Linked DNA regions of Homo sapiens: all the other regions are linked to region 3. The links are contacts of gene promoters, found by promoter capture Hi-C in blood cells and fetal thymus (Javierre and others, 2016). All regions are on one chromosome and are shown on one strand. The core of a region is centred on a gene start or on the middle of the fragment in contact, and the rest is flanking DNA. Distances in the headings are between cores, read along the strand shown. Region 1 overlaps ROCK1 (Rho associated coiled-coil containing protein kinase 1). Region 2 holds the start of ESCO1 (establishment of sister chromatid cohesion N-acetyltransferase 1). Region 3 holds the start of SS18 (SS18 subunit of BAF chromatin remodeling complex).

What was found. Contacts are between HindIII fragments. The CHiCAGO score rates a contact against its expected background, and 5 or more counts as called.
Region 1: a contact is called between a fragment that was not itself captured here and the fragment with the promoter of SS18 in region 3, in 1 of 17 cell types (non-activated CD4 T cells). The highest score is 7.0, in non-activated CD4 T cells.
Region 2: the fragment with the promoter of ESCO1 here is called in contact with the fragment with the promoter of SS18 in region 3 in 1 of 17 cell types (non-activated CD4 T cells); the score reaches 6.8 in non-activated CD4 T cells.

What each region holds. Positions count from the first base shown.
Region 1 is chr18:21,104,796-21,109,107 of GRCh38, reverse strand. The region is part of intron 1 of ROCK1 (Rho associated coiled-coil containing protein kinase 1); the gene reads left to right. Among named protein-coding and RNA genes, the nearest start is that of ROCK1, 4.9 kb to the left of the region's middle. The HindIII fragment of the contact is 3,968 bases long and covers 1-3,410 here.
Region 2 is chr18:21,599,353-21,603,226 of GRCh38, reverse strand. ESCO1 (establishment of sister chromatid cohesion N-acetyltransferase 1) reads left to right here and starts at 2,523. Exons shown (of 12, transcript NM_052911.3): 1 at 2,523-2,604. RefSeq lists enhancers at 894-973, 2,298-2,817. The HindIII fragment of the contact is 1,991 bases long and covers 1,548-3,538 here.
Region 3 is chr18:26,089,228-26,093,370 of GRCh38, reverse strand. SS18 (SS18 subunit of BAF chromatin remodeling complex) reads left to right here and starts at 2,758. Exons shown (of 11, transcript NM_001007559.3): 1 at 2,758-2,870. The coding sequence starts at 2,802. RefSeq lists an enhancer at 2,304-2,423. The HindIII fragment of the contact is 4,894 bases long and covers 254-4,143 here.

The sequences.
Region 1 (4,312 bases), core at 177-2,676, 5.0 Mb after region 3:
AGAGAAAGAAGTCACTGTGAGTTGAGAGAGCCAAAGTATGTTTTATAATGGATGGATAGGATTTAGGTAGAGGGTACTCAAGAGGAGTGGAGGATAACGTGAATAGAGGGTGGAGACATGACTGGCTATGACATGTTTGGGGAAACAAGGAAGATAAGGTTGGAAGGAAATATTAGCGTTAGATTGTGGAGGATTTGATTGGTAGGCTAAGGATTTTGGATTGCCTTTACACTGTTGTGGCTATTAAATATTTATAAATAAGACCGTGCTAGGATGAATGAAGAAGATGAATCTGGTGTGTGGAAGATGGGTTAGCATGGGAAAAGATTGGAGAGACAGTGAGATTGGACAGTTTTTTAAAATTGTTATTATTGTAATAGTCCAGAAATGATTGAAGCCCAAAATTGGGGCATGAGAATGAGAAAAGAAGAATTAATGGAACTTTATTGGCAGGGAAAAGATGGGGAACCAAAGAGAGAGGCAATAGTCAGATGACTCTAAAGAGGTTGAGCCTGGATTATAGGGAGAATGGTAAAAATAGCAAAGTCAGGTTTGGAAATTGCTTGTGAAGAATAGGCCTACAGATAAATTCAATTTTAGATTCGTTGTGTTTGAGGGGATAGTGGAGCAATCATGAGAAAATGACCTGTAGACTGTTGGAGATACAGAACTGAGCTCATAATTACAGATAATGATTTAGAAGTCATTTGCACAAAGGTGCAAGTTGATATAATGGTAAAGGGAGAAACAATGGAGGGAAAAATGAGGGTGAAAGATGAAGGTTGAACAAAGAGGAAGAGTGGAGGAGGTAAGCCATCAAGGCCTCCAGAGTTAGGACAGCCAGGTATCATGGAGCCCAACACTTCTAAAACAACATTTTGTTAAAGAGAATAGTCAACAGACAGATTTGGTTGTTTTTTCCCCTTCAAATCTTATAATCTTGTCCTCTTTTTCTGTTTAGTTCCACAGCTGTTTATTGATAGCTGTTACTGAAATTTTATTACCCCGTCAATCTGAACTTGGTAAAGACTGAATTTTCCTTTTTTTTTTTCTGAGATGGAATCTCACTCTGTTGCCCAGGCTGGAGTGCAGTGGCGCGATCTTGGCTCACTGCAACCTCCGACTCCTGGGTTCGAGTGATTCTCCTGCCTCAGCCCCCACGAGTAGTTGGGATTACACGCGTGCACTACCACGCCTGGCTAATTTTTGTAGTTTTAGTAGAGATGGGGTTTCACCATGTTGGCCAGGCTGGTCTTGTACTCCTTACCCCAAGGAATCCGCCTGCCTTGGCCTCCCGAAGTACTGGGATTACAGGCGTGAGCCACCGTGCCTGGCCCAAGACTGAATTTCCTTTAGAGACAAAAAATCCTTTTTCTGGGTTTGTAGTATCTAGCATGAATTTTCTTCGCATGATGTTTTATGTTTAACATTGAGCATTCGTTCGTTCATTCATTCATTGTGTCATTCAGGGTGACCTATCAGGTGACTTCAGCTTTTTCAGTGAGTCTGTTCTTGTTCTTCCCTATCTGGACTTTGGACCTCTCATGTATTATAGGAACAAAACTCCTTTTACATTGGTTGCCTTTTTCTGTTATTTTGACTTTTGTTGATTTGTGTAACTGATACTTACTTATTAGTGTGTATTATGTGCCACGTGCAGTCCTTTAGTTCTAGAGTTGTTTTTGTAATCCCAAAAATAAGGTTTTCAAATTGTTTCTTCTCTACCTCCTTTACTAGATTCATGCTTAGAAATGGAAACTTCCAAATCTTTTGGTTTCAGAAATTTGCTGGTGTATGTCCTTTTAAACTACCTTACCTACTAAACAGCTTTTTTGTTGAGACACTAATGATGAATAGCATCCGTAATCTGAAATTTGAAGTGCTCAAAATCTGAAACTTTTTGAGTGCTGACATGACGCCATAAGTGGAAAATCCACCTGACCTTGTGAGATGGGTTGCAGTCAAAATGCAGTCAGAACTTTGTTTCATGCACAAAATTATTAAAATATTGCAAAAAATAACCTTCAGGTTGTTGTGTATAAGGTATGTATGAGACGTAAATGAATTTCTTATTTAGACTTGGTCCCCATCCCCAGGGTATCTTATGTATATGCAAATATTTTAAAATCTGAAAAAGTCTGCAGTCTGAAACACTTCTAGTTCCAAGCATTTTAAACAAGGGATACTCAACCTGCAGTAGTTTAGAATAATGTAGCTGGAAGAACTCTGATAAGTGGCTATCCAATCTTTTCTCGAACACCTGTAATTTTTTTCAAGAACTAAGTAAGTTCAATCTTCATATCATGTATAAATGCTAAAATAGTCTGCAAATACTAAGATACATTATGATAACCATTCACTTGTTTCCTAGAGCATTCAAATTAGTCAACTTTGGTTTTCTGTAGGTCAGATTCTTTCCAGTGTCCTAATGGTTGTCTTTCTTACTGTCCATGTTACAGTTTATAAGGATTATCGGGAGCTATTTCTCTTTTCCGGACTTCCTTATCTTCTAATTATTTTGTCTAGGGCCTGTAATAATTTCTCAGTGATTTTGAGTACCTTTGAAAACAGAATAAGGGATGGAGTTTAGTTAAGTCTATTTAATCTTTGCAGAGGAAAAAATGCTTATGATTTGTAAATTAAATAGGAAAAACAAGGCCGGGTGCAGTGGCTCGCTCCTGGAGGGCTGAGGCCAGAGAATTGCTTGAGCCTAGGACGGGGAGGTTGCAGTGAGCCGAGATTGTGCCACTGCACTCCAGCCTGGACGACACAGTGAGAACTTGTCTCAAAAAAAAGGAAAAACAAAAATGGTTGGGAGGGTTATAGATACATTTGTTTTGAAGTTTGACATACTTTTCATGAAAATATCTTGCTTGTAGCATATTTATTGGCACATCGCTTCATGATGCCTGTTAAGAACATGACCTTTCCACTTCTCTTCTGGCTGGTGGAGGTGTAGCAACGGGTGAGCGGAGGAGACAGAAGGGAACCAGTATTAGTCAAATAGTGCCTGTTGAGTTCTAACACTGTGCTGTTTGTCACTACTATTTCTTATTAGGGAGTTTTTCAGAATGTGGAAGATAAATGTAAATGAAATTTCTGGTGTTAGTCTTTGAGTTTTTCTTCCTTTAAATTATCTTCCTGGGCTCTCTTGACCTAGTGCTTTCCCATCTTTTCATTCTTCTTTTTTTCTTTTCCTCAATCTTTGGCCTATCATACTTATCTTTGTCTTCACTCTCTTGAAGAATTCATCCATTCTTACAGCTTCAATTATTATTATCTCTATGTACATGATACCCAAATCTTTATTTTTAGTCTTTTGTTTCAAACCTTAAATATCTGACTGCCTTGTAAGCATTTCTACTTGGATGTCATGTTAGTCTCAAATCCCTCATATTCCAAAACAAGCTTCCTCCCATAAACTTATCTGTTTTGTCATTAATTCCACTATTGTCCCTGTCGCTAAACTGAAATTTTTGTTGTGAACTTTTTTGACAGTGTTAGTCCACACATTGGGTTATTACAGCAGATTTTGGGTAGCATTTTCGAATCTGGATTATTGCTGTCTAATCCCCTGTATGCCTTGCCAGTTGAATTGATCTGTTTTGGGGGTATATTACTCTTGGAATGAAAAGACCTGAGGTCATTAAATCTTTGAGCCTTAAAGTTGTATCTCTGCCAGTGTTCCTAGTTTGTGAGTTAATAGGTGTTATTAGTATCAATTGCATATCTGGTTAGTTTGGACCAGACTTTTTTGGATGTTAGTATGTTGCAGGAACTTCTTTTAAAAAAACAAGTTACTCTCCTAATTCATTTTTATTCATTCAGCAAATCTTTGTATAGGGCCTAAACTTGGATTGAAATCTAGGCTCTGACATGTATTTGCTGAAATATTTTAGGGAGTTATTTTAACCTCTCAATGCTGTTTCATCTTCAGAAAAATAAGAGGGGATAAAAGTACTAGATTGTTGTAAGAATTGAATAATATAGTCAAAGCAACTATCATAGCATTTGGTATTTAGTAAGCATTTGTAATATTGTCATATTTATAATATTTCTGTTATATACTAGTCAGTGTGCTTAGTCTAGAAGTTGATATTTATTGTCGTCTCTAAGTACAGAGTAATTTATCTGGCACCTCAAGCCGCTCATAAATTCATAATCTAGCTGTGCGTTATTGACGTCTAAGCCAATTGTAACTGAAAATTGAGACATTTATTAATAGATTCAATAAATGGGGAAGATCTTTTAGAGACTGTTTATTTGTTTAGTTGTGATTTATAATATGGTATATACTTTGTGCCAAGGGTTT
Region 2 (3,874 bases), core at 1,274-3,773, 4.5 Mb after region 3:
TTATTTCGTTTCTTGTTTTTTTAAGGCCACTGGCTGGGATCAGACACCAGGGTCAGCAGAGCAACAAGCTGCTATGGCCTAGGCTCCTGGCCGGAGGGCTATGATTTCATATGGTCTGATATTTGCACGAATTCCTATGCTCCTGATTGAGGCCAATTTAGCACATAGAGTGGAATAGACTACTCAGAAGCAGAGGCCTATTTTGTGAGAATCGACACTCATAAATATGGTTTCTTTGTATGCCAGAATTTGAATTACTATAGACAAAGTAGTTTATCCAACCAAAAGAAGTCCCACCAGTTGTCTGGCAATCAGAAGACGAAGATGAAGGGAAACATAGGTCAGGTCTCCTGATAAATAACCAGCTTTTAACCAGACCAGTAGTTTACTCCTGTTCCCCCGCCCCACCCCCCGCCCCCAATTTGAGCTGTTTGGCATATGTCATTAAAGTGTGTATCAGGGACTGGAGCTGAAGGTGGAAGCAGCGGACAGGTCTTTGCCAAGTAACACAACTATGGTAATGTGAAGAATGGCCTCACCCATCAATACCTCCCAAACAGCTGGGATTACAAACGTGAGCCACTGCGCCCAGCCTCGTTTTTGTTTTTAAGCCATAACATCTCCCTGCGCAAACTGACAGGCAGCTCACTATTCGTGGAAGATGAATTGTCAGAAAAACATCAGGTTTGACAAACTTAGAGCACATTTTGGTTGTACTTGGCTTCAAAGAAGGAGGGCAGGAAGGGGAAAACCCATTTATGATCACCTCTTCCCATTCTGAAATGCAGAAGTACCGAACTAGCCTCACAGTTCCGCAAATAAGCAAAGGGTAGCACAGAACATATGTTCAAAAGCAGTCTAGTAGCCGGAGCAGTGGCTTAGGCCTGTAGTCCCAGCGCTTTGGGAAGCCAAGGAGAGAAGAGAGGATCACTTGAGGCCAGGAGTTCGAGATCAGCCTGGGCTGGTCTCAGTGAGACCTTATCCCTACAAAATATAAAAAAATTAGCCTGGCGGCCGGGCGCGGTGGCTTACGCCTGTAATCCCAGCACTTTGGGAGGCCGAGGCAGGTGGGATCACAAGGTCAGAAGTTCGAGACCAGCCTGGCCAAGATGGTGAAACCCCGTCTCTACTAAAAATAAAAAATTAGCCGGGCATGGTGGCAGGCACCTGTAGTCCCAGCTACTCAGGAGGCTGAGGCAGGAGAATTCCTTGAACCTGGGAGGCGGAGGTTGCAGTGAGCCGAGATCGTGCCATTGCACTCTAGCCTGGGTGACAAGAGTGAGACTCCATCTCAAAAAAAAAAAAAAAAATTAGCCTGGCATGGTGTCGTGGGCTTCATACATGCAGTTCTCAGGGAGGCTGAGGCAGGTGGGATCGCTTGAGCCCAAGTCGAGGCTGCAGTGAGCCGTTACTGTGCCACTGCACACCAGCCAGGGCTACACAGCAAGATCCTTCCTGTCACAAAAGAAAGAAGTGTGGGAACCATGAATCCTAGTGATAGAATCTTGGATTCTATCTCTAGAGGCGTCCAAGAGCGAGCCAAAGCTTTGTCTGAACACTCAGTCTGACTAAGTCTAGCAGAATATTTTACAATTTCTGATGATTCTTGCACTCTGATACACAGGAAGAAAGTGTGCAAGGAGAGGGCGAAGCCCTGCATTTTTTGGAGGTGCTGGAGGGCAGTGTAGGGACTGCACCCTCCTTTTTTTTTTATTTGAGACAGGGTCTCACTCGTCCAGACTAGAGTGCAGTGGCCCAGTCTCAGCTCACCACAACCTCCGCCTCCCAGGCTCAAGGGATTCTCCCGCCTCAGCCTCTCGAGTAGCTGGGATTACAGTCGCACGCCACTACCACCCGGCTAATTTTTGTATTTCTAGTAGAGACGGGGTTTCACCATGTTGGCCATGTTGGCCAGGCTGGTCTCGAACTCCTAACCTCAAATGATCCACCCGCCTCTGCTTCCCAAAGTGCTGGGATTACAGGCGTGAACCACCGCGCCCGGCCCCACCCTCCTTCTTTACATTGGCTCATATGGAAGACCAAAGGCACTTGGATTATACATCGCAGACAGAAGCAGCCAAAACCTACATGGCAACCAGTTGCGACAAATTTCCAAGGTAAACCACAACCGCTGGGGGCCTGGGTGGTTTTCAGCTCAAAGCGATGACCCCAGGAACGACAAGCGGCCGCCGCTAGGGGGCGCCGCCACTTCCCTGCCAGGCGACCACCCGCGGAGGCGCGCGCGCTAGGCCTCCCACCGCGCCTGCGCTGAGGATGGACACTAGCTCGCCTTTCCTCGACGCCCAGCCGTCCGGGCCGGGGTGAAAAACTGCGTGACACGCAGTGAGCGTGGCGGCCATCTTCGTCTTCTGGGCACGTCAGCTGAGCCGGTTAGGGCTGAAGAGGAGCGTTGCGCAAGCGCACCCAAGACGGTCACAGGTAACTCCCATCTGACGAGCGAGGCGTCGCCGTCGTCGCCGGAAGTTTGGTGTTTGCGCCGCGGGGGAGGCGGCGGCCGCAGCAGAAGCAGCTGAGTGTCTCCTGATACCCGGATGTGAGGCGATCCGCTGGCGCTAGTCTGACCCTCCGCCAGGCAAAAGGAAGGTACGCGAGCGTCCCTGACGGTCCCCGCCGCCTGTGTCTTCACCTCTCTTTTGCCAGCCCCTTCAGGGAGCGGACAGTTCTCCCTCTTCCTGTTCCACCCTCGGTGGCGTGTTGCCTCGCACGCCCCTTCCTACTGCTCCGGTCCCAGCTCTTCGCGCCCCTGGGAGGGAGGTGGGAGGCTCTAGGCTCCAAGACGCCGTCGCTTGAGGTAGGCAGCTAACGTGCTCGCGTGTCCGCGCACCACCTGCCGCTGTTTGCTGGGCGGTCGAAGTTCATAAGGGGTCGTGACCGCCGACGGGGCAGGGCCGGAGTTCCCAGCACTGCCGCGAGGGCTCCGGGAGCCCCGAGGTGGCGCGCAGCCATTGCTAGCACCGGGGCAGCGCCAGTGCTGGTCCCGCAGGTAGCTCCGGGCCCCGTCTCCGCCCCCTGCGTTTTCTCTTCCCGGCGCTTCACCGGAGCCAGTCCCTCGCCGCCTCCTGGCGCAACCCGCTGACCCGGCCTGAGCCTGGAGGCCTCTGCAGTTTGCGGGGCGCGATGTGGGGTCTTGGTTTTACAGCCTTCAGTTTGGGAGGGGAGCGGGCCCAAGGTCATAGAGTAACTCATGCTGCAAATGGGGGTCTCGGCACAGGTAGGGCGGCTCTGGAGTAGAAATGAGTGCATTGAGGGCCGCAGTGAAGTTTATAGCGATGGAGAGAGGCGAACCAAAGAGAATTGGGTCCTCGATTTTTATCACGGGTTAAGATTATTTTACTATGGGGGTTTATTTTGCACAGGCAGAATGGGATAGCAAGTCCAACAATTCGAAGACTACCTCCTCTCCCTCCGCCTCTCAATGATGCGTCCGAAAATCCGGCGTGTGCTTTATTTTCCGGGGCGATGGGGACGCAGCGGGGACCAGGGGAGGGAGGAAGAGGAGGAGGAAGGAGCTCAAGCTTTGCGATTTGAGAAGTACTATGAACCATGTTTTCTGTAGTCTTAGCTGCAATGAGATTCCTTTAAACAGGAATCGCAGCACACAGTATCTAGATAGTATTACAAAACGATATCTCAATAAATAAGCTTCGCAGGAAACAAAAGCGCTACTTGGTGGCATAAGGTGTGGTTAGTCCCCCCACCAGCATTGGCTTTTTTAAAAAAGTGGATAAAACATAGATTTCAGTTGAAAACATCCAGGTTGCAGTGAACTATGCTATATTCACTTTGTCTTCTGGTCAAGTACTTAGTTTCTGCTTTACACAGGACACCAACACGAATAAAGTTTTAAGTTATT
Region 3 (4,143 bases), core at 1,509-4,008:
GTTTATTCTCCTTCTACCAACTCTGCTGCCACTCAGTCTACCTTGGGATTCCTCTTAAAACTAGTGGTCAGGTGAGATGGGACTTATTATGTTCCCCTAAGTATCCCCTAGCTCAGGACTCTTACATTACAAAGGCCCCAAAATTTTAAGAAAGATCTTCCAGGCTTCAGTCTCAATCTTTCCTCTTTCCGAATTTTCTATTTTTCCAGGTCAGGCTAACTGATTGGATTGATTGGGTTTTAGCAAGGAAGCTTGAGGGTGAAGTAGTTCTTTTTAAGTATCCTCTCTCAAGGAGATCATTTGTATTTCTGGCTGGACTTATAGAACAATGCTTTTCAACTGATTTCATGTGATCAGACACAGAAAATAATGGTATCTTTATGGCATACATGGTGTCACAGAAAAGACTGTGGCTATCCATGCCTGCAGGCTATGGGTTCTCTGGGCCCTACCCTGCTACTCTGAAGAAATAAACATCTCAGGCCAACTGTAACCTGTTTTCAGTGGATTTCCCTTTCTCACCTTTGGGGAGCTGTAATTTAAATAAAGAAGGTAACTAGCTCCAGGTGCCTCCCTGGAATAGAAGCCCCCTTGGACTACTTATTTTTTTGCTGGGATATGGAAATTAGACAAGTGTTCCTACTGGTTCATGTTGCCCTTTGAAGTTTCAGTGCTATCTGCCAAATGCACAGAACTGGAGCAGTAGGACTATTTACGATTCATGTTTCCTATTGAAATACTGTTCTTAGCTACTAAGTACTAAGGTACTTTTGTGTAAAGCATTGAGACATGACTCTGCATGCTAGGTGTTGAGTGCACAGTGATAGTGGTAGACAAGTATTGGTTTCCAAATTTGACAGTTTTCCAATTTGGTGTGATTACCTTAAGTCCAGCTATACCAGAGTGTTTTCTTCAAGGCTTACAATAGTGAAAGATAACAATTAAATTTTTAAGAGTAATTACTGTCAGTAGCAGCATAAACTTTCTTCCCTTTATTCTTATGACAGCTTGAGTCTTCATCCTTTAGGTCCCAGTTTAAATATAATCGGGAAGACTTTTCACACTAACTCATGTAAGTGTTCCTGTCATTCTGTTAGTTCCTCCCCCTTTTTTTTGGCTAGTTTTTCTTGGGACTTTGCATATATACATATTTGTTTGTTTCTGGTCTGTTAGTCCCATTAGTGTATAAGCTCCTTGAGAGGAGGTTCCATGTCCAGCTTATTCACAATCGTACCCTAGGTTTCCAGTATAAAGCCTAACAAACAATGCATTTAATCAATGACATTCTTGACATTTTTGTGAAGAGCATTTATTTGATACTTAATTTTTCTTTTTTTTTTTTTGAGACAGGGTCTTGCTGTGTCACCCAGGGTGGAGTGTGGTGGGGCAGTCATGGCTTACTGCAGTCTCCACCCCCTTGGCTCAAGTGATTCTTCCACCTCAGCCTCCTTAGTAGCTGGAACTACAGGTGCACACCACCATACCCAGCCAATTTTTAAAATTCTTGTAGAGACAGAGGTCTCACTTTGTTGCCCAGGCTGGTCTCAAACTCCTGGCCTCAAGTGATTAAATTTTTAAAATAATGTATTTTTTCTTTATTTTTCCAATTTATATAAAAATGGAAATATTTTTTATTATTCATTAACGTTGGGTAACACTTTATATAAACTTTCCCTTTGTGTTATATGGAAGTCTAAATTTACAGAATACTTTAAAACCCCACGGCAACACAAAACCCACATTTGTCCGTGTTCCTTCCATAATTTGAAAACTTTGCCTTTTTCCCTTACACTGACTTGAAGCCTGGCAGCTTGGGCCTAATTTACAAGGCACTAAGTAAGTACTCTCTTAAAAAACAGAGAGTGAGGATGCCCTGTTTCACAACTTAATTCCAAAAAGCCAAGTCAGACGAAATCGACCCACTTTCCTGCTAAGGGTTTGTCCCAAGAGGCGAGCTCTTCTCTGTCCGCTCCAGCCAAGCTGGCCGATTGCCCCTGAGCACTGGACACAACCTTGGTGTCCCGGTTTCGGGTCAGGGTTACTTTCCAATTGTTAGGCACGACTTTGTGCGTGCGTGCGAGACTGTGGACTCGGAGGTGCGCATTTGGGGCGTAGCCGAGCCATTTAAACCAGCGAATCCGCGTTCACCTTGTCCTTCCACCTCTGCCCTATCTCGGCAGATGCTCCACGGATTTGCACGAACTCCCGAGTCTTGACCTCCCTCCCCTCTCCGGGCTGCCGGGACAACTCGGGGCGGCCACTCTTGCCAGGAGGCGTAAGTAAGGATGAAGTTGGAAAAACTGAACTAGGTCTAGGGCACGCTCTGCAACACAGTCGGGGAGACGCTTCAGAGGGCCGGAGAGGGAGGCAAGTTGCCACGGCGCGAAGGGGGCGGGCCGGCTTGGGCCGCTCGCATTTCCTGTGACAGGGGCTGCCCCAGCCTCTCCTTCTCCCGCGGCGGCGGGACCATTTCCTGAATCGCTGAAGCGGAGGGAGGACTAGGGCGCGACTCTACCATTAGCGCAAAGGGCCAGGGGGTGCCCATAAGGAGAGCTCGGGGGATGCAGGGACGGTCAAGAAAGTTCGGCCAGGGCTAGGGGTCCCCCAGAGTGCGCAGAAGCGAGACATCCCTGGCCAGAGTGCCTCCTTCAGGCCTGCCCCGCCGCCCGTCCGCTTGGCCCCGGAGCATCCCCCCTCCCCGCATTCCCGAGGTGGTTCAGCCCGAGAGGCCGGCGTCTCTCCCCCAGTTTGCCGTTCACCCGGAGCGCTCGGGACTTGCCGATAGTGGTGACGGCGGCAACATGTCTGTGGCTTTCGCGGCCCCGAGGCAGCGAGGCAAGGGGGAGATCACTCCCGCTGCGATTCAGAAGGTGAAACCGCGCGGGGTTGCGGATGCCAGGCCCTTACCGCCTCTGGGAGAGACAGACGCGGGGGGAAGGGCCGGGCCCGGAGTCGACCGGGCCGAGGCGGAGGCGGGCCTGCTGGGAATCAGCAGTGTTTGGGAACACGGACTGCTGGCTGTGCCTGAGTGGGTGGCGGAAGAGGGTGAACCGGTTTTTCTCGGAGTCTTTCACGCATTTACGCGTTTTTCTACAGACACAAAAGCCCAAACAGCCGCCGCCTGATTTCTCTAGGGATGGGGCGGCGTTCGGGCTGCGGGGCGCGTGCGCCCGGCGGCGGCCGCTCAGGGAAGGGCGTGTGTCGGACCGGCGGCCCCGCGCGTTGCTCCGGAGTTACTTTGGCGTCGCCCCGCCCCGCGTGCCGCGGCTGCTTCGTGCGGACCCCACCGCGGGTCGCGGCAGGCAGAGGGGAAGTCGGTGCGCTGGTCGCCGCCCTGCAAACTCAGCCGAGTTTGGGAGCTCGCAGGAGGACTTGGGGAACGCTGGAGGGAACCTTAGTATAGAGTTTGAGGAGCGGGCAAGGAAGGTCCCCATGGACTCTGGGGTTGTCCCCAGAGCCTCTTCTTCCCTTCTGCATCGCCGCCTATTCATTTATTCTGCAGCAAATATTTATTGAGCGCCTATTTTAGGCGCTGAGGCTACTGTGGTGAGTCATGGTCCTTGCCTTCCTGGAGCTTACAGTCTAATGGTGGAGACTGTCGTGACCAGTTAATGTAAGTCGTGATAAATACACAGGGAGCTGCCTCCTTTTTAAAGGATAGAGCTGCTGCAGTCGCTGCTGTGTTACTGCCAGTCGGAACACAAAGGTTCTTTATTGTCCTCTACCCCTTGTTGCCTGCAAGCAAGGCAGCATTCTAAATTTTACTGACCTAGACTTTCAGAAGTTGCTGCTGTATTTAGCAGTTTACTTTAAATATTTTTGTTTTGTTTTATGCTGTGTAGCAAAGATCAAAATAGAAAAAAAGGTCAAGTTTTAGTACCACTCAGACCACGTAGATTATGCTAATCGGTTTCTGTTTACTGTCAGGTTCTTCGTAGTGTGGCTTTTGACATTTGCCCAACTGTTGCTTTATTTTATGAACAAACGGGCTTGGCAGTGCCTGGAAATGCAGTGCTTTCATATAGTGCTCTGAGTTAAGTCTGCAGCCTGGCAAACAGCTCCAAGTACGCACTCACGCAAAACTGCGTTTCTGGAGGGCTCACCTTTTTTATTTTTGTACACAGGAAAAGTCCAGAGTTTTTC